Linked DNA regions of Homo sapiens: regions 2, 3, 4 and 5 are each linked to region 1. The links are contacts of gene promoters, found by promoter capture Hi-C in blood cells and fetal thymus (Javierre and others, 2016). All regions are on one chromosome and are shown on one strand. The core of a region is centred on a gene start or on the middle of the fragment in contact, and the rest is flanking DNA. Distances in the headings are between cores, read along the strand shown. Region 1 holds the start of RGS2 (regulator of G protein signaling 2). Region 2 overlaps GLRX2 (glutaredoxin 2). Region 3 overlaps RO60 (Ro60, Y RNA binding protein). Region 4 overlaps LOC105371664 (a long non-coding RNA gene). Region 5 overlaps RO60 (Ro60, Y RNA binding protein).

What was found. Contacts are between HindIII fragments. The CHiCAGO score rates a contact against its expected background, and 5 or more counts as called.
Region 2: a contact is called between a fragment that was not itself captured here and the fragment with the promoter of RGS2 in region 1, in 10 of 17 cell types (monocytes, total CD8 T cells, activated CD4 T cells and 7 more). The highest score is 12.7, in monocytes.
Region 3: a fragment that was not itself captured here is called in contact with the fragment with the promoter of RGS2 in region 1 in 5 of 17 cell types (neutrophils, monocytes, naive B cells and 2 more); the score reaches 8.7 in neutrophils.
Region 4: a contact is called between a fragment that was not itself captured here and the fragment with the promoter of RGS2 in region 1, in 3 of 17 cell types (total B cells, fetal thymus and naive B cells). The highest score is 6.5, in total B cells.
Region 5: a fragment that was not itself captured here is called in contact with the fragment with the promoter of RGS2 in region 1 in 12 of 17 cell types (monocytes, total B cells, total CD8 T cells and 9 more); the score reaches 12.8 in monocytes.

The regions. Positions count from the first base shown.
Region 1 is chr1:192,806,926-192,811,225 of GRCh38, forward strand. RGS2 (regulator of G protein signaling 2) reads left to right here and starts at 2,114. Exons shown (of 5, transcript NM_002923.4): 1 at 2,114-2,256; 2 at 3,241-3,342; 3 at 3,445-3,506; 4 at 4,056-4,222. The coding sequence starts at 2,147. RefSeq lists silencers at 565-654, 1,591-1,800, 3,308-3,367 and an enhancer at 2,131-2,350. The HindIII fragment of the contact is 4,593 bases long and covers 1-3,330 here.
Region 2 is chr1:193,098,500-193,102,799 of GRCh38, forward strand. GLRX2 (glutaredoxin 2) reads right to left here. Exons shown (of 4, transcript NM_197962.3): 2 at 2,642-2,705. Among named protein-coding and RNA genes, the nearest start is that of GLRX2, 4.8 kb to the right of the region's middle. The HindIII fragment of the contact is 777 bases long and covers 2,185-2,961 here.
Region 3 is chr1:193,083,033-193,087,332 of GRCh38, forward strand. RO60 (Ro60, Y RNA binding protein) reads left to right here. Exons shown (of 9, transcript NM_001173524.2): 9 at 1,547-4,300. The coding sequence ends at 1,699. Among named protein-coding and RNA genes, the nearest start is that of GLRX2, 20 kb to the right of the region's middle. The HindIII fragment of the contact is 6,162 bases long and covers 1-4,300 here.
Region 4 is chr1:192,537,969-192,542,268 of GRCh38, forward strand. The region is part of intron 4 of LOC105371664 (a long non-coding RNA gene); the gene reads right to left. Among named protein-coding and RNA genes, the nearest start is that of RGS1, 36 kb to the right of the region's middle. The HindIII fragment of the contact is 1,260 bases long and covers 1,825-3,084 here.
Region 5 is chr1:193,064,004-193,068,303 of GRCh38, forward strand. The region is part of intron 1 of RO60 (Ro60, Y RNA binding protein); the gene reads left to right. Among named protein-coding and RNA genes, the nearest start is that of RO60, 6.5 kb to the left of the region's middle. The HindIII fragment of the contact is 6,967 bases long and covers 1-4,300 here.

The DNA of each region.
Region 1 (4,300 bases), core at 864-3,363:
TGAGCTTAATCTTCTACAAATTTGTGTATCTTGTGTATTTGTGTACCTACAAATTGAAACATCTTGATATTTAATAGTACCTACATATTTATAACCTAATTACGTCTGAGTTAATCCTCGTACGATTTTTTCCATCTTGAACAGCTATGATTTGAACATTTCCTTTTGCCACACATATGCAAATCAGTAATAAACTTCCGTACAGTACTTTAGAGCTTAGAAAAGACCTTTCATGTAAGAGTCACATAATATCCTATGAGGCTGGCAAGAAAATACATGTTACTCTTATTACAGATGAGAAACTGGGACTCAAAGAGGTGTGAAGCTAGTGTCCCAACAGTTACTTAGCATTTACTGGATAAGCCCAGGCTCTAACTGGGTCTCCTGACAGAAGTCCAGCTCTCTCTCTCTGCTGCCTCTTTGTCAGAACTCCTGGCCTGCCAGCGAATTTAACTGTCTATGAGTAAATTCTAACATCTAAGGTTCTAAGTATAAAATATATTGAGGTTTACAGTGGTGAGAAAAAGCAAGTGTCTGCGTATTACAGACAGCTGATAAATACGTATTGAGTCATCAGAAAGTGAAAATAGATGTAGGACTATTATGCAAAGCATAGGAGAGGAAGAGCATATGCTTAAGAAAAAATGGCATTCCTAGAGTTAACAAGCATGTTTCAAAGTATCTATTACTGAAATCTACACGATTTTCCTTTCCACAATAAAGTCCACAACTGTTGTCTTAAATAATAACTGCAGGTTTTGCCCTCCAAGTCAAACTTGGAGCTCCAACTACTGGCAGCTCACCGTAAGAATATATTAATTATTTCCAATTTCCTTTTAAGAAGTCGAATACAAAGTAGAGAGAATATCTGCAGCTTGGTTGCAAAGCCGCTTAAACATTTCACTGGCTAGTTCTGGTAATATTATCCGAAATCAACTCATTTTGTGGTTGAGGTAATCTATTTGTCTTTACCAATCAAGTCGTTTTAAAACCTTCAGGAGTAGAGATGATACTTGAAGAATTAACAAATAAAACTTAATCAAGGAAACTGTTAACTCATTCTCCCCCCTACTTTTTGCCAGTTATTAAATGTTCTGGTAAATCCTAACTCAACAAGAATGACTCATGAGGAAATCCTGACTCCTTGAACTCACTGATTCTGGTGCATTACAGCTATGAAATCTCTATGTCTGCAGCTTTCTCTCCCACCATAAGGAAATCTGTGATTTCTATTTTGGCAGGAGATGTGACCAAGGACTCCTGAGGAATGACCCTATAGACAGACCCAGCCACGTGCCTAGTAGTGATCAAAAATGCAAACCCAATTAAAGCACTGTCTTCTGATAAAGTCACTTTCTCTTGTTCAATCCCTAATGTTCATTCTCAAAGTGTTCCAAGACGCCCCAGCAAGCTGCAGAGCAGATCCCACCCTGCCCCTGGGCAATCAACGTTTCAGGTTACTCCTTCCTTAAGTTAAGTGGCAGAGAGAAACGGGCGAGGGTCTCCCCATTGCCTCAGTTCACAGACCAGGGGGTGTCGAATGAGTCCTACAGCAGGACAGCAAACAAGAAATGAGGCGCGGGGTCAGGGAACGCGCTCAAAAAAGGAAGAAAAATCCCACTCTTCATTCGAAATCAGGCCACTGCACTCCGGCCTCGTGGCGGGCGACCTCCTCCTGCCAGGGAATCGCCGCTCTGGCCTCGGGCTGGGGAGCCCGTCAGGGTGGGTGAGGGAGCGCCGGCGCCCCCGCCGGGCCGCCGCCAACTTCGGCTCCCTCCCTCCGTCGCAAAGCCCTCGAGCCCGCCCGGCCGCCACGCTTCAGCAAAAGGTCGTGCGCAGCGGCCCACACTGAAGACTCTCCATCTGCTCCCACACCTGCCCCAGCTGGCCGCTGCTATGTGGCCCGAGTGCGCAAGAAGCCGGGGCCGCAGACGTCAGCAGCGCCCCGGCTTCGAGACCCTTCGGCAGCAGCCGTGACTGCCGCCGGCGGGCGCTGACCCATCCCCGTGCCAGTCTGCAGCCGACCAATCCGCGTCCTCTTGAGGCGGGGCCGGAGCCGCGAGGCCCCGCCCCCAAGCCGAGGCCTCATAAATGCTGCGACGCACGCCCAGCCGCAAACAGCCGGGGCTCCAGCGGGAGAACGATAATGCAAAGTGCTATGTTCTTGGCTGTTCAACACGACTGCAGACCCATGGACAAGAGCGCAGGCAGTGGCCACAAGAGCGAGGAGAAGCGAGAAAAGATGAAACGGACCCTGTGAGTATGGCTTTCTTCCCTCTCCCGCCACCCCCTGCCCCACACTGCAAGCTGCAAACGCGGTACTTTCGGGCTCGCCTTTGACGTTAGGAAACTAGCCTGAGCCTATGCAGGGAAAAAAAATCGAAAAGGTCAATTTGTTAAGTAAGGTTAAATCTGGGTGATGCTCGGGTACAGTTTAAGAACCGAGGGAGACAGTTGATATGAGGGCGGTGGTTGATGCGCTAAGAAATTGCGGGTTGGCTTTTTGTCCTCCTGCATTCAAAATGACATCAGAATCCTGCGGCTGAAGCGCGTCCCCAGCATTCATACGTTGCATGATGAGTTCTCATCAGCTTACACAGCTACTGGAAGGTGATGCTCTTGCTGGTTCTGAATATACTCGTTTAAAATCCATTTTTGTTTTTTAATTATAGAGCAGATCTCACCCAGTCCGAATGTGGAACAAATAATTGTTATGCAGCGTCTGCTTAAAAGAAGTGTCGTAGGTGGGGAAGGAAGAGCGCAGGGGAATCAGTCACCCACCTCTTTGTACAGTCTCTGGCGTGGTCCAGAACCTCCTGCTCTAAAGAGAGAAGCGTGGGCCGGCTCCAGACAGTTCCATGTCTGTCCTTTTCATTAAAGTGCAAAACGTCTCGGAATTGTAATTAACCTTGCAAACAAACTGATGCCCTTTGTGAGCCAGAAATAGTGTCTGCCTTTTGAACTAAATTCATTAACAATTCTTTAAAATACCCTAGTGATTATAGGTAGCCCTGCCCTTAGTTGTAAAACTAGTAGATACGGTCAGATTAATGGACGAAACTGCTCAGTACATGAGGTTTAAATGTTAGGTGGATAAGACTTATTTGAAGAGTTCTTGCTTTGCCTTATGCGGTTTGTCTCTAGTTACTGGGTGACTTTATTTGGTAAAAATGCGTTCAGCTGCAGTAGCATATTCAAGTGTTGCTAGTTAGTAATTATCTTTTTAATTTTTTGTTTTAGTTTAAAAGATTGGAAGACCCGTTTGAGCTACTTCTTACAAAATTCCTCTACTCCTGGGAAGCCCAAAACCGGCAAAAAAAGCAAACAGCAAGCTTTCATCAAGTAAGTTGAGAATCCTGTGCTTGCAAATATCAATAGTTAGCTGCTGAACTGAAAAGGGGAACTCTGATGTGCGTAAGCTAACATACAGAACCTCTCTTGCAGGCCTTCTCCTGAGGAAGCACAGCTGTGGTCAGAAGCATTTGACGAGCTGCTAGCCAGCAAATGTAAGTTAACTCTTGAGCTTGAGCCATTGCTAACATCGCAAAAGCCTGGAAAGGCTGCGTCCACCTAACAAAAGAGCAGCTTGCCTGAGGGGGATTAGACTGCAGTCACTATAGGATAAAGCCTGTTTTTCTTTCCTTTATTTCCCAGGGTTTAACAAATAAATGCATATATTCTCTCCAGGTGGGGAAGAAAATCAGCCTAAACAAATTAAAGTGGCAGTTGCTTATAGTTAAGGTTGAGTCAGTTTTTCCATTGCATACAATGTTTTCAAGAGGCTTAGTTCCCAGAGAATTTATGGCTCCCCTATAAATATTTACTTTGCATTGACAGCAAAGTACTTATATTTTTGCAGCAGAGTGCCAACATAAGCCTTTTGCCTACTGGTATCTTAGTCTTTAAAAAGCTAAATTTTGAGAATTACAGGTTTGAGCGAAATCTAGAAAATTCATTTAGAAATAATTAAAATGTGAGGGATAGGAGAAACATAAGGAATCATTTGGTCTCTCAGTTCTTCACATTCTGCATGCTCTCTTTTCTCCCCCCTTCAGATGGTCTTGCTGCATTCAGGGCTTTTTTAAAGTCGGAATTCTGTGAAGAAAATATTGAATTCTGGCTGGCCTGTGAAGACTTCAAAAAAACCAAATCACCCCAAAAGCTGTCCTCAAAAGCAAGGAAAATATATACTGACTTCATAGAAAAGGAAGCTCCAAAAGAGGTAAGGAAACAAGTTCCTAATTTCAGCACAATCTGGACATCTTTAGCACAAAAGTGAAACAAAGTAATCAAGGACAAA
Region 2 (4,300 bases), core at 1,323-3,822, 290 kb after region 1:
CACAGTAAGTGGACTCTGTCTCAAAACAAACAAACAAACAAACAAAAAAACCAAAACATTGTACATTTCTTTTTTTTGAGACAAAGTCTCACTGTGTCCCCCAGGCTGGAGTGCAGTGGTGGGATCTCAGCAACCTGCGCCTCCCAGGTTCAAGCGATTCTCATGCCTCAGCCTCCCGAGTAGTTAGGATTATAGGCACCTGCCACCACGGCCAGTTAATTTTTGTTTTTTAGTAGAGACGGGGTTTCACCATGTTGGCCAGGCTCGTCTCAAACTCCTGACCTCAGGTGATCCACCCGCCTCAGCCTCCCAAAGTGCTGGGATTACAGGTGTGAGCCACCGCGCCCAGCCCCAAAACATTATACTTCTTTTCAAATATTCAGTAGGTATTCAGGAGTTAACTCCTTACCTTCTATTCTATAACTTTCAATGGTAAGGAATGGTATATGATTTCTTCTTAAAATGTAAGGCTTACCCCTCTACTTCTATCCTTTCCTATATACCTTTATAGTACAAAAGCTGTCATTACTCTCTTGATAAGGTATTCTCATACTCTTAATTCAGGAAAAGCTACTTCCAGAAATGCTGATTCAATGAGTTTGAGGTAGAAGTTGAAAACTGTATGTTTAAAAAACCTCTCCATATAATGATGATATCAGCCTGGTTTGAAAACTACCTTCCAGGCCTTTACCACAATGGCTATGAGATTCTGCTATGCATCCACGCAGCCTATGAAGTTTTTCTTTTTGTTTTTTGTTTCTAAACATATGAATGCCTGGGACCTTCAAAAGATTTTGAATGGATAGATTTAGCACCCAGACATTTGTCTAGGTTTTTTTTTGTTTTGTTTTGTTTTTGTTTGAGACAGTCTTACTCTGTCGTCCAGGCTGGAGTACAAGGGTGCGATCTCAGCTCACTGCAGCCTTAACCTCCTGAGCTCAGGTGATTCTCCCACCTCAGCCTGCCAAGTGTCTGGGACTACAGACATGTGTCACCACACCTCGATATTTTTTGTAGAGACAGGGTTTCGCCATGTTGCCCAAGCTGGTGTTGAACTCCTAGGCTCAAGCAATCTACCTGCCTCGGCCTTCCAAAGTGCTGGGATTAAGACATGAGCCACTGTGCCCAGCCTGTCTAGTCTGTTCTTTTGTGGTGGATCATAAGCAGTACCTTCAAGATGAAGGCCAAAAACCAGAAAGTATAAGACCCATGCTTCAGAAGTTATACCCACCCTTGGGTGTCAGAAGGGTCCTGAGTTTTAGCCCAGCTGTCTGCAAGTTGGTCTATTTTTATGATTCCCTTGTGTTTACTAGTAATATTTAGTATAAAAGTCCATCCTAGGGAGGGCCTGCCATACCAGAGATGTATTAATGAATCCATCTTACGGAGGACAAAACTAAGGCTGAGTGGTTCGTAATACTGGGATTTGACTCAACCTTGTCACAACACCAAAGCCAGTGCTCTTCCCTCCACCATGCTGCCTCAGGTTACAAGACACACTAACACCATCGTGTAGGGAGAGATGAGCTTCCAGGGCTCTGACATATATTAGACACTGATGAAGAGATTCCAAAGTGAGCTGAAACTAAAGATGACAGCGTTAGGGTTTCTAGAACTCTCTTCCCACTTCTCAAGCTCGCCCTTAACTGTATATCCCATGATGTTGTATTTTTACTTTAAAAGAGGCAATTCAGGCCAGGCACGGTGGCTCATGCTTGTAATCCCAGCACTTTGGGAGGCCGAGGCAGGTAGATTGCTTGAAATCAGGAGTTCAAGACCAGCCTGGCCAACATGGTGAAACCCCATCTCTACTAAAATACAAAAATAAGTTGTGTGTGGTGGTGGACGCCTGTAATCCCAGCTACTAGGGAGGCTGAGGCAGGAGAATTGCTTGAACCCAGGAGGCAGAGGTTGCAGTGAGCTGAGATCGCACCACTGCACTCTGGCCTGGGCAACAGAGCGAGACGCTGCCTCAAAACAAAACAAAACAAACAAATAAAAAAGCAATTCCCTCACAGTTATAGTCAACAGCTAGGAGTTTAGCCAAATCAACTAAAGGCAGACATTTTTTTTGTTTGTGGTAGTAGTGAGTGGTAAGCAAGAGAGAAAAAATGGTATGTCTTGTAGGTTGCAAGGGAAGAAAAACATACATGTAAGAGAGATTTTCTAAGGCAGAATTAACGAAGCTTCTCAGTAAAAGAAAGAGGAAAAGAAGTCCTATCCCTGAGAGGATGGTTTACGGAGTAACTACTGCACACTAGGTTCTGTACTAACAAAGAAAACTGTTAAACTGCTTCCCAGGCCAAAATCAAATAGGATCCCTAGCTAAGGGCAGCTTGACTGGTATCAACACTAGACCTCAAGTGGGTATGATGAAAAGGAGCAGCCAACCTCATTATCCAACTTAGAGGGAGTGAAGACTTCATTAAGAATAAATCTCATACGTTTTAATTACCAAAATGATCTAGGACTTCTTAGTCACAAGGATGATTTTCATAGCAGATTTTAAAATAAATATTAATCTCTTAATTCATTTGCTAAACTATCTCAAGTTTGGATATTGAATAAGCATATTAAATATATAAGGGACAATTCTTTTTCTACAGAGGAAAGTTTTTCAATCATCTCCCACATCACTCACTTGGATCTGGTTCACAGGCGCCGTCGCTAAATTCTCCAAAGATGATGATGTATTGCTCTCCATCCTAAAAGGAATTTAAGAGAACAATGTAGTTTATTAAGCATTAAGGATAATTTATCACGAGTTTTATTTGAAAAAAATCAATCTCATAAACAAATATAGCCAAACTTACAAAATAGAAAAAAATTTTACTTATTATCAGTACAAAATGTCAATATACAAAGTATTTGTTTCACTAAAACCAAAAAGGCCTGTGTGCTTATGTAACTAGCTTCCCAACACCCTTAATTATTTGATAAAATCATATTTACTGTGTTTAAAGCTTGACACACTCTTATTTATAACTGGCAAATTTCAAATATTCCATCCTATGCCATATGACCTGACCATTGGTTTAAAAATATAGTTTCTATTTTCTTAGTAAAACATGCCAAAACTCTATGAACACACTGTGAAGCAGGGAATCTTCAAAGATTTTTGAGGAAGCTACAGTATCTCAACCGCAATGGGCCATAGCTCCAAATTTCCTAGTCTGCAAAGTGGAAACAATAATCACTGGCACGTCTCAAAGGATTTTGTGAAGATTAAATGAATTCATACGCAGAAAGCAGATAAGTGCCTTCCACATAGTAAATGCTCAATAATGTTTAACATTACTACTATTAGTTCCTGAATACAGGACCTCTCATTATCTCAGTATTTATTATCCAAAACCTAGCTATTGGGAGCTTGTAAAAGGAAGCATTCATTGTCAGGAAAATTATCACTAAAAAAAAAAACTCAACCAGTTTATCATCATCAAATCTTTTTATCCCTGGAACCTTTTCTTCCCCATCCACTCATCTTTCTTGGTCAACCAGGCCCTACCGCACTGTTGGAACAATATCAAACACCATGATGCAAACTAACTGCAGAGTAAAATTACAAATCTTACAAGAGGATTATGACATATAATAGATGTTTCAAAAGAGAATTACTCGAATATCTAAAGAATAAGAGAATTTTTGAAACTTCAAATATTTAAAAAACTATTATCCTTGTGATTATGTTATAAAACTCAAATATTCTGCCTTCAAATCAATACTGTATTCATTCATTGGGGGTGCATTTAAAATTTAAATGTTCTTAAATGTAAACATAAAGCTACTTTTTATGTTTTGTTTAATTTTTGCAATAGTCCCAAGCAGAATTTTTTAAACTGGATAGCATGAAATATTAGTCTTCTTTTTGAGATGGAGTCTTGCTCTGTCACCGAGCCTGGAGTGCAGTGGCGTGATCTTGGCTCACTGCAATCTCCGCTTCCCAGGTTCAAACAATTCTCCTGCCTCAGACTCCCGAGTCACTGACACTACAGGTATGTACCACCACACCTGGCTAATTTTTTGTATTTTTAGTAGAGATGGGGTTTCACCATGTTGACCATGCTGGTCTCGAACTCCTGACCTCATATGATCAACCTACCTCGGCCTCCCAAAGTGCTGGGATTACAGGTGTAAGCCACCGCGCCTGGCCTGAAATACTAGTCTTATTTTAAGTGAATCCACTCTAATAGCTTTTTCCAGTACATCTTATCCTTGGATAATGAACATCTGCCCTACACAGTAGTCCCCCTTTATCCACGGTTTCAGTTATCCAAGGTCAGCTGTGGTCCAAAAACAT
Region 3 (4,300 bases), core at 625-3,124, 280 kb after region 1:
AGCCACCACACCTGGCCATTCTTGATTCTTATTCACTTATGTGTTTCAAAAAATGTTACTACAAGTAGTTCTGTATCTTATATAGGAGCCAGTGTCCGTTATAGACTCAGCAGTACTTAAAATAAGAAAAAGTATTGATTACACACATAAAATTTATTTTAACCAGTTTCCATTGCTAAACATTACTAAGAATATCCTTTGCAAACAGTATTTTTGGTAATAATCAGAATATTTGTTTTACCTTAGCTGTAAGTTTTTTTTAATAATTCAGTGTGCTCCTTGAAAAATTGAAAGTATTAGTGAGTTTTGCAAAAGGATTACATAAAATTAAAGCTATAATCTATGCTCTATGTTTTATGGACATATCTGTGTTCTAATCAGTATCCTCCAGTTGAGCTTTCTGAAATGACATAAATCTTCACTCTCCAATGTGGGTTGCCACTAATCACATGGGACTTTTGAGCACTTAAAATATGGCTAGTGTGACTAGAAGTAGAAATAGAACTTGTTGATGAAGAGTAGTGGTTCTCAAAGTGTGGTTTCCCTACCAGCAGTCTTAGCCTCACCTGCGACCGTATTAGAAATGCAAATTCCTGAGGCCCGTCAGAGACCTGCTGAATCAGAAACTCTGACGTTGGGACTGTGTTTTAACAAGCCCTCCAGAGGATTTCTGATGCAGGCTTAAGTTTGAAAGCTGCAGGTAAGGGAATAGTTTTGTTTTGTTTTGTTTTGTTTTTTTAAGAAATGGGGTCTCCATCACTGGAGTGCAATGGTGCTATCATAGCTTACTGTAACTTGAAATTCTGGCCTCCCAAAGCACTGAGATTACAGCCATGAGGCACTGCCCAACCAGGATAGAATGTAGAGTAAAGACTGTTTGGTTGTGAGTCCCGAGTCTTTCTCTTACTCTGTGTGGACCTGAGCAAATTATTTAACTGATCTACATCATAGTAAGTTACTTACCTCTTAGAGTTGTTTTAACAGTTACGGTAGATGTATTATTTAAACAGTGCATTGTAGTTTCTCATGTGTATACATTCAGTGATTGTTGGTTTTTCTCAAAAATTCAATTATTTTAATCTTACATTTAGCTGTAGAGGACAAGTTCTTACGTGGAACATGTGTATATCGCACATATCAAAGTCATCAGCCAAAAGTTGATCATCCCAGAGATATGTCCTTATATATACTCATACACACTGCCCCAGCATTTGATATGTTGATAAAAATATCTGGCACCCTTAATAACCTGACAGGTTTCATAAGTACAAAGTGCCTAGGCTGCTCAATAATGTACACTGCAGCCCATAGAACAAGTAAAGTAATTGAAGAGAGAAGTAGAAATTTCAGGCAGATTCTTATACAATTTTATTGTCCCTTCTTCTAAAACTCCCATATTCTAGCCTTAAAAGATTGACCCCCGCAAAAAAATGACTTTGTATTTAAAAAGCTCTGGTAGAGAAATGTTAAAGTGTTTTAATTTTGGAGGTATTTTGCATTTCCTTACATTTATGTTTTTAATATGTATTTTGGTCTTTTTCTACAGAAAATGGATATTCCAGCTAAATTGATTGTTTGTGGAATGACATCAAATGGTTTCACCATTGCAGACCCAGATGATAGAGGCATGTTGGATATGTGCGGCTTTGATACTGGAGCTCTGGATGTAATTCGAAATTTCACATTAGATATGATTTAACCATAAGCAGCAGCACGATCCAGAGATCCATTGCCATCAGTGATCTCACTAAAAATATACAGCTACTTCCCAGCTAATCTCCACCCAATGAATGATGATGGTATAGTATGTGCATAATGGAAAGTTACCTTACTGAAAAAAAAAAAAGAAGGAAAAATAAGATGGGCCCAAAGGTCTATCTACTAAACTAGCTCTTGGGGAAATAGCTTCAGGATACTGTAGTTTCCTCTATCTAATAGAGAACTTTTTGTTAACAGACACTGTAAAATAGTTTTGCTTTGTTGAATAATACGTGTGTACCTAAAAGAGGTAAGAGCAAAAAGTGTAATTCCACATCATGTTACTTGAGAAGTGCTTAACGTTTTCTTAAATGTTTTCATTGGGAAAGGACAGCTTTGATAATGTCCAAATACTCTGAAATGCACTAGACCATATAACTGTGATGAAATATGAAACTCATCTGTAAACTTTTATACCAAGGGGGTAAAAAAAAAAACTAAGGCATTTGATTAAATTATGAATGAGTTTTACAAATTCCTTTCAGAGTTTTACTAAGATCACACAAATAACAGCTTTCTTATTCAGTGAAAAAGATATTTTATTTCTGATGTTTTATTTGCACTTGTGGAATATGTTACCATTAATCAGAAACATCATGGCAACCCCTAAGAATAGACTAAGTTTGTGTTGGCTGAGGGATTCTATTTGGTTTGCTTTTTTTTTTTTGCTTTGTTATATTTTATTGCTACAAGGGGTGTGACTTGATAATGATTTCCTCTGAATTATAATAACATAGCCAGATGTAGTCTCACACTGTTTTTCATACTCTTAAGTGTAAATAATATAAAATGTTTCAAGCGCTTAACTCCCCCTCATTCACAAAGTATAACAATTAAAATCTCAACTATAACCAGTTTAGCTTTTTCCTTACTTTTAAAATAAAATTTTTTACTTTTAACTATTTTTTTAGTTAATATTTTTAAAAGTATACATGTCAATGGCCTCTTTGTCCATTATTCATTTTGTGGCAAAATATTCTTCTTTGATAGTGTAAACAAATAATAAAGCAATCTAGGTCCTTTAGGTTTGAAAGGCAATTTTTGAGTAGCATATTACCAGCTAGCCAGTCACTAGGAATTTTTTTCAGTATTATTTGTATGTATTAAACTTTTCATTACACTAAAGTGCATTATTTTATTGAGCAAGTATCCTTCATTGTGAGGTTTAACATTAAAGCAATCTGTTGAAATGCCATTATCTTTGCTCATAATTTTATTATGGCCGTCTAAGGTAGCTTACACATAAAACCTGTTTGCGTATCTGTTGTTCTCTAAATATTAATTGAAGATTTACTGAGGATTTGTAAGGTCCTTCTCGCTGTTATGTGAAAAGTCAAACTGTAGTTAATGTAAATTATAGCCTTTTAGGTGCTTGGGGGTTAGAGGGTTTATGTTTTTTGGGAAAGGGGGACTTTAGTAGTCTGAGGATTTCTGTACATATTTTCTTCTGTTTTATGTGAAATTTGGGCTCTGGGAATAAGAAAATATTCCTTTCAAATTTATTTGACATATTAATGCTGGTTTTGATATGTACCCATTCCTTCAAGGCAACTGGTATCAGTTTTTAAGTGTGATTTACCTGAGATATTTTTGTTCAGCAAAGCTCATAGCACCCTCACCCCCACTCCAGACATGCATTGCTTCTGATGTTGTTCACGTTTTTAACCCTGTCAAGCATTGAACTGAATATATTAGCTACTTTTGACACATTAAAATATTACGTTCAGATTGAATTTAAAGTTTAAAGAAACTAATAGAATTACGTAATAGTTATTGAATTGTTTAAGTAAACCCAAGATCTTAAAAATTATAACATGATCATTTTATTCCTAATAGAAATGTTAAATAGAATATAGTACAAAAGTGCATTACCTTCAGTTGTGTACTATTTCCATAATACTTTTAGACAAATATATCTATAAGTTAATATTAAATCCATCAAGGATACAAGATTGGATGGATATGACCTTTCTGAAGTATTTAGGTAGGTCTAATTAAATGGACTAGGGTAACATTTAAGAAAGAAAGGATAAGTAGGAGAAGCTACCACAGAAGGTAACTTTTCAAATCATGGCATATTTGAGCTGGAAGAAACCTTAGAAACCTAAAAGCTAATTTTTTAAATTTTTGTTAGAGAGCTGAGGTCCAAGACAGAGTGTGATTTTGAAGTACTATAACCTAGAAATCTTGGTCTCTTCATTCCTGTGCCAGAATTTATTTCCCCACAACATGGGAATACATGGTCTCAGAAGAGTAGAGGATAAAATAAAATTATTTAAGACTTTTACCTTATTGAGTTATTAGGAAATAATGTATATACGATTGCTTTAGGAGTAGAAAAATAGAATGGGAACATGTATAATCTTGTAATTCATAGGAATCCTCAAGCACAATTAACCTGTGTTGCTATATATATCTACATATATAGAGAAAAAACAAAAACTTTACCTCATTATGAATAAAATGTACTGAAGTGATAAGTTTTTTATTTCCTGAGTTACTTTTAGGATTACTGTTAAATTAATATTTGGGAAAATACTGC
Region 4 (4,300 bases), core at 1,205-3,704, 270 kb before region 1:
ACAAACCTGACAAAAACGAGCAATGGGGAAAGGATTCTCTATTTAATAAATGGTGTTGGAAAAACCGGCTAGCCATATGCAGAAAACTGAAACTGGGCCCATTCCTTACACCTTATACAAAAATCAACTGAAGAGATCAAAGACTTAAACGTAAGACCTAGTACCATAAAAATCCTAGAAGAAAACCTGGGCAATACCATTCAGGACATAGGCATGGGCAAAGACTTCACATCTAAAACACCAAAATCAATGGCAACAAAAGCCAAAATTGACAAATGAGATCTAATTAAACTAAAGAGTTTCTGCATATCAAAAGAAACTATCAGCAGAGTGAACAGGCAACCTACAGATTGGGAGAAAATTTTTGCAATCTACTCATCTGACAAAGGGCTAATATCCAGAATCTACAAAGAACTTAAACAAATTTACAAGAAAAAAAAACAAACAACCCCATCAAAAAGTGGGTAAAGGATATGAACAGACACTTCTCAAAAGAAGACATTTATGCAGCCAATAGACATATGAAAAAATGCTCATCATCACTGGTCATTAGAAAAATCAAAACCACAATGAGATACCATCTCATGCCAGTTAGAATGGTGATCATTGAAAAGTCAGTAAACAACAGGTGCTGGAGAGGATGTGGAGAAATAGGGATGTTTTTCCACTGTTAGTGGGAGTTTATCCTTTTTTTCTACACAGGGATATTCAGGTGGTGGCATATCTAAAAAACCTTACATAAACAAAAATGTATTTTTAAAATATATTTTATGCTACTTAAATAAGAAACCAAAAAAGAAAAATGGGAAGGCGATTGTCCTCTCCTCCCAGGCAGGGTAGATAAGAAAATAGAGAGGCAACATGAAGTGGATACTTGCAACTCTTAATGAAACTGAACCAGATACTCAAGACAGATGGGCTCCCCTACATCTTGCAAAGCAAAACTTATTTGTTCCTTTTACATTTTCAATTGCTTAATTTGAATTTCTTGGTGCAGGCAAAAGGATTTGTGAGAAATGTTTTACCCTCTTTCATTAAAAAAAAAAAAAACTATTCAATAGCAACTGTCTGAAGAAGGGGAGAAAAAAGGAAAGAAAACAAGAAAAGCCACAAAGCCCAGCTGCACTTAGTTTCTGTTCACTTAGTGCAGCTTATGACGTAGGCTCGTTGTATTTTGAATTTGCACATTAAAAACATTCATTCAGAGAGGAAACTGCCTTTGGCATAACCTGCAGAAGCAAATAGCATTCACAGAACTGTTATTCAAAAAATTGTACCCAGAGAGCTATATTTCTTATTTAAATGAAACTTAAGTAGAACCAGGGAGGAGGGGGAGGTATGTTTTATGGTGGGTAACTTCTGACTTAAAATTTGAATCAGGTTTCATAAACAATTATTGGAATCTGAGAAAAAGTCAAGCATCAAACCCTGAGTAGCTGAGAGTTTGGGGGTCTCACAGCACAAAAAAAAGGGTGTTGAAAGAGGAAGCCCCGTTTTTGCTCTAAGTGACTTGCCTGATCCCGAAGTTATGTTAGCTTGTTTACCTCCAAGCACACCTTTGGAGTGAGATTTTTAAAGCAGTTCTCTTTGTAACATCAACATTACAATCTATATCCTGAAAACTACGAAGTTTTATATTCCTCCTTCCCCTCACTAGGCCTCCCCTGGCCTGCTTGTGTATTTGCTTCTTAGGGTCTACAGGCCTCTCTCTGAACTAAAGCTCTTTTGAAGTCCCAGACTTCCTATCTCCACCCAGGATCTAACTTAGTGTGATAAAGGATAATTTATTTATGAAAAACATTCATGCCATTCTTTTAAACTAGAAGCTTACATTTCAAGGGTATGGAAATGATTTCTAGCTGCCCTAATTTCATGGCATTGGGCTGTCGTATGTCATATACCACTGCACTGTTCATAATATTTAGACAGTTCCATAGCAACCTGTAAAATACAGCCTCCAGAGGTCTGCATTCCTCCAGCTATTCATGAAGGATTGGAGGAATTCCAGAGGAAAGAAACCACATTACAGAGCACTGGGTCTGAAATGCTCCCTTTATGGTAGCAATTGCAGGAAACCTGGAGCAAAAACATGTCTTAGGATTTGATGCAGACCTCACTACAGTTTCTAGAAGCATTCCCTTTTCACTTCTAGTTTTCTGACTTTACTTATAAGGTATCCAAAAATGGTTTGATAAAATTAGACTGCTTTATAGCTTATCTTTTTTTCCTTTCCAGGGTGGACAAATAAATTATCAGATTTTTATTACTTAAAATGTGTTATACAAAAATATTAGTGGGCAATACAGAAACGCAAATATATTCTAAGGCCTGGTTCTCTTTCCATTTGCTTCTTGAAATTTGCAAGTAAAATTTTCATTTTGGCCTACTTTTGAACCAGACCACAAAAACTTACTTTATTACACTATCCATTCACATTAAAATAGAATTTCTACAGTGACCAGCACAGAGATTTTAAATAAATGTGGTCGACACTCCTTAGTCACTGTTGCCATCTTCACTCTCTCCATCTCTCATTTTCATCAACCTGTAAGATAAGTCACTATCTATTTTCTATCTATATTTCATTCAAAATGTCTTATACGTTTGTAGCTCTCTATTCTCATAGGTACTACTTATCTCCAAATTATATCTCCTCGCATAAGATTACCATAATAGTCTACCACTTTATGTCTTTTAAAATATTTCCTGTAGCACCTTATAGAACACACAATATTTTATATATTCATCACATTTGATCCTCAACCTATGTTTTAAGCAAAGCAAACATCATCCCAGCTTCACAGATAAGAAAATGGTCTCAAGAAGACTAAATGACTTTCTTAATCAATGTCATGAAGGTAGCAAGAGACAGAAACAAAACTTGAACTCAAAACCCTTGAATCTAAATCCCAGTTCCCTAAACTTAATACTTCCTTCTTAAGGCCAAATAACAACAGCACAATAAAACCCGCTAAAAATTTCAACAGGTCCCTATTTATTAAACACATATGGCAACTTAGAAGTGGAGTGGCCTTACAGAGTATGAGGTTTAACAATCCTCATTTTATATATTATAGCTCCAGAAGCTTGAGGACTGGGTGATATTTCCAACATTACAGAACCAACGATAGACCCCACCAGTTCTTGAATCCACTGACTCCCAGCTACAGCATTTTCTGCTACACTTTTCTGTCTTACTGCCTTAAGTGACCCCCAGAATTTTTAGCTTTTGATAACATGTCCCAGTAACATGTCCAGCTTTAATTTTACCATCTCAAAAATGTGCCTCTGCTAAAAACAGGTTTATACATTTCACTTTCCAACAGGGGGACCACACTGATACAACCTCTGGACAGTGGTCCACATTGCTCACCAAACCTGGAGCAATGTTCCCTTCAGTCTTTCCAAGTACAAGTCCTAGTCAAATTCTACTCCCTGCACAGAGCTGGCATCTCTGTACCTCAAGAAACCTCCCTTCTCCGACTTCTTGCAGTACTTGTAGTTTCTACCACACAGATCTCATACCTGCAAATCCCTTTGAGGTCAGTGGCCAACTGGTCCTATGTTCCTGTCTAATCTCGTTCCCATGTTCTCCTCACTGAGAACAGTTGTTATATGAAATGTTATTTCCTTTTCCTAGAATATCCTTCCACTCTCACATATTAAACTGTCTAGAATATTCCTACTCAGGCTTTGCTTCTCAGCTTAAATGCTGCTTCCTCCATGAGGCCCCTGCTGTCTCTAGGTGACATAGGAAAGCTGTTTTCTGAGTTCCTATAGCATTCTGTACATTACTCCTTCAAACCAGTTATCTGATTTATATTGAAGTTGTCTACATGTCTGTTTCCTCACTAAAGATTCCTTGTCATAGACACAGTCATCAGCTTTTCTTATGTACTAAGTACTATTCCCAGGACAAAACTGGCACATGATATTTGTTAAATAAATCCAAAAATGAAATATTTATTTGCATAATAATGAAGACATTCTGTGTTACTTTAAGCTTAATAAATAAATACGGAGTTGGAAGCTTAGAGGGAAAATGTTTATCAAGAAAGCAGATATTGACTCTCATTGGCCTAGATCTAATTCCTATAGCAAACAATAAAGCAATGTTGGAGAAAGACAAAGTAGCAATTTATTTAGCTATTATTGTTCTTTCAGGGGTCACGGCCTTATACTTAGAGGTAAGTTCTTATATTCCACTATTTTCTAGAATTGGAGCGACTTATCCTTATAATAGAACTGTATTGAACATTTTGCTATTCCTTTAGCTCACCAAACTTTTTTTTATTCTTTA
Region 5 (4,300 bases), core at 494-2,993, 260 kb after region 1:
GGATACAACTCAGGAACAGCCAAACAGGAAGTAGACACATATGGCAAGGTCTGGGGCAAGGGAAGGATGCAGAACTTCCATGCCCATCCTTGTGAAATGTGGGCACATCACCTTCCCAGCACATCAGTTTTTGTTCACCAAGGATGCTCCACTGAGTATCGATGAAGAAAGTTTTTATGAGGTTTCATCACATGGGCATGATTGATTAAATCATTAGCTACATGGCTGAACTTGATCTCAAGTCCTCCTCCTTTCATGGAAGGTTGGCCTGACCAGTTTATTCCTCTAAACATATAGTTGGTCTTTCTAGTGATTAGCCCCCATCCTGAAGCTACCTAGGGGCCCATGTTGCCTCATTAATGTAACAAAGACACTCCTATTTCTCAGGAAATACCACGGGTTTTTGAAACTTTCTGCTGGGTATTATGTCCAAAGACCAGGTACTCTCTCTTATAAGATGCCACAGTATCACATCACTTTGCCGAATTTTGAGTTTATGTGTGTATCACACTCAGTGACAAGAAGGAGAGTAACTTGGGACATGTTATTCTGTTTTCTGTCTTTTAAAATATGAATATGACCCTGGTAAATTTATATAATCAAGTAGGAAGGTGCCCTGGCTGCTAATAATGTTATCTGTTCCACTGTTTTATGTTGCACTCTGGAAAGTACAGTCACAGAAGCATAGGAAAACCTGAGCAGTTTCTGCTGCAGAAATACTGAAAGGGTATGTCCTCAGGGTTGTCATTTATATCATAACATGCAAAAGGAAGAGTCCATGAATAAGTAACTTTATTTCTTCTAATAGGGATTATAAGGATTATACTTAGAGATTACCTCTTAGACATCCTTCATAGATTTAAAAGTTCATTTTGCTGCTTGCTCTAGAGAAGTACCTGAATACCTAATATTAAATATGTTAGAAAAACAGAAATTTTGTTCTTAGATGACATTTTTACTCAGTATTCATTACTTTTCTTTAGAACTTTATTTTTTCTTGATTATATTTTTCACTACCTGCATATAGTACATTTATCATTCTGATTACAGAATTTATCTTAAAGACTTGTATTATATTTTGCATTATAAATATTGAGGCTTTTATTCTCAAAATGTGTTATGGGAAAGAGAAACCAATTGTGCATAATTATTTGGCAAATGGTTCAGAAAGTCAACTTTAATGATATTTGGCTTTAAGTATGTATTGCTAATTACATAAAAGCAATACAAAAGAGGAGACAAAAATGATAAGATTTGGTTTCTACTTTCAAGGGAACCAATAATGTAGCTACATGTGGTCACAATGAATAATACAAGGAAAAGAATTTGAGGGGAGAGGGAATTTTGAGGTTTGGTTTGGGACCTTTTAAATCCCACCACTTGGGCCTTGGTGCAGGAAAGCAAGTTTAGTAGAATTATCTGATATTAGATGTCATTTCAGTGTTACTCATCTAACAAATAAAACTAATAAGCAGAAGTAGACAGGTTGAAGTGCAACCAGAGCCTGTTTTTATGAAAGCTGAGGGAGAGACTAGCAAAGTCTATGTAATGTAAAGATCAGAAAAACATAACATTGTCTACTGGAATTGGCAATTAAGGTATCAGTCTTTGAGAAGCATGTTAGTCTTCTTAAAGTGTTTTGGATCGAAAGGTAGAGATAAAAGCCAAATTTGAAAAGAGGATAATAATAAATAGGAGAACAGGCATCCACTGCAACAGGAGTTTCAACCTATGCTGTATTCAGTAACTATGAATTTGTCCCTAATGACTAATATGATCATTACATCTCTGATGCCACCTGAGACCTAGGCTTCCACTAACATAAGCAAATTTATACTAGCGTCTTATTTGGAATATTGACACTAATATTCCGAACACAATTCAGATCACTGTCCCCCTCAGTCACATTCAAAATGTGAGGCTCTTCATTCTCCCATGCACTTATCCCTACACCACTATGTGTTCCCCTCTCTGAGACCCAGTCTTTCATTCCTCCCCTCTCTACCAAACTTCTCCACATACCATTTGGCATTCTACATCTCCTGTCAGGGGGGAATGTCTTCAGTTTCCTTATCCCTCATTCCTTCAAATCTATCTTTACCTATACTCTTTACCCTTAAAAGATAAAGGAAATATCTCTTGCTGTCAGTAGGCCAGTCTCAACCTGGATGCTCTAAGCTCATTCTCATTTCTTTAAGAAATTCCTTCAGTTATCCCCCTTCTCTACTGTATCTTCAGCTCTCCAAATTGAATCTTTCAATGTTAGCATCTTCCCATTGAAAAAGGTAAAAAGATTTTTTCTCTAAGTCCCATCCTCTTTTACTTTCCTTCATAGTTTATAAGTATGTGTCTACAAAAGAGTAGTCTAGCTGTGAAGTTTCTTCCTCACTGCATATTCTCCTGATCTCACTGTAATCAAGCTACTTCTTATACCACTCTACTGCAGTTGCTCTCACTAGTCACTCCTACTTGCTAAACCCAGTGGTCATTTTCTAGCCTTTTATTTACTTTTCCTCTGACCATTTGAAATTACCAACCATTCACTCCTTGAAGTTCTCTTCCTTGTAGTCCATGATACTATTCTCTGTCGGTTTTCTTCAACTCTGTGCACCTCCTTTTCCGTCTCTCTTTAAAAGGCCTTTCTCTCATTAGCTTTTAATGGTTAATATTCACCAAGATTCTATCCTTAGCCTTCCTTGTAATATATAAACATGTTCAAGTAAGCATGATCTTCAGAACAAAACTTCTTTTATCTTGTGTTCCTCTTTAAGTTATGACCGTATCTGTCAACATGTCTTTATGGCTCTACAGGATGCTTAGACAGTTTCTTTTCTAGAATATAAAGACAGATCGAGATTTCAGAAACCTCTTCCTGGAGCGCCTTCCCTAAACTTTATCAGTTTTTTAGTTTGCCTTCTCTGCTCAAATCCTTCTGGATTATTTAGACAGTATTATTTTATACTTCCTTGCTCACTCACTTTTCCACTACAGCACTTAATCACAATTTGCCTTCTCTGCACAAATCTTTCTGGATTATTGAGACAATATTATTTTATACTCCCTTGCTCACTCATAATACTTTTCTACTACAGCACTTAACTACAGTTTGCATTGTGATTCTATCCCCACAAATGAGTGTGATTTTCCTGTGATGAGGAGAAAAAAAAATTTTTTTTCTTTCTTTTTTTTTTTTTTTTTTTGAGACAGAGTCTCGCTCTGTCCCCCAGGCTGGAGTGCAGTGGCAGGATCTTGGCTCACTGCAAGCTCCGCCTCCCGGGTTCACGCCATTCTCCTGCCTCAGCCTCCCTCCTGAGTAGCTGGGACTACAGCGCCTGCCAACACGCCCGGCTAATTTTTTGTATTTTTAGTAGAGACGGGGTTTCACCATTTTAGTCAGAATGGTCTTGATCTGACCTCGTGATCCGCCCGTCTCGGCCTCCCAAAGTGCTGGGATTACAGGCGTGAGCCACTGTGCCCGGCCCAAATTTTTTTTTTTTAGTCTCTTTAATGGGAGAGAAATTGTCTTCATGTCTTACACATAGTATGTATTCAGTAAATGCTGGTTTAAGTTTTTGTTGGTTGTGCTGTTTTGTTAGCCATGGACAGAAGCCCAGTGCACCGAAATAACATGACAGATTGAAGGACCTCAATAAACAGTGATACTGTAGTAACAATAGTGGTGGACTGATGAAGAAGTGACAATTGTGGTTCCTCCATTAGAAGGATAAAGAGGGATGTTGTTTCCAGACAGCTAGTTCTAGGAGTTTTAGAGCTAATGGAAGGAGTAGAGTGAGGGTAGTTACAGATGACATAAAACCGTAAACCTAAAAATGGCTTAAACAATAAGGATACATTTATGACATAATAGGAAGTGTATAAGCAGGGCAGTTTCAGGTAACCCGATATCAAGGACCCAGGTTCTTTGTTTTTTCTGTTCTGCTCTCTTTATATATTGGTGTGCCATCTTAAACTGGCTTATCTCAAGGTCTGAAGATGGTTGTTACCACTCCAGGCATCACTTGCAAATGAAAATGTCAGAAGGCAGAAAAGGGAACATTTCTTTTTAAGAGCCTGAGCCCCCTTTTAAGACTGAAGAAAACCTCAAAAGTGTTCTCAGCTGACTTATCATGTCATACTGGCCAGTCATGACACATGCCCAACTCCCTATACCAGTCATGTGGCAAGGAGAGCACCATGATTATTGGGCCTGGGTCAAGCAGCAGCAGCAGCTGGGAACTTGTGATAAGTATACATGCTTAGGCCTCACTGCAGACCTACTAAATTATGAAAGAAACTCAGG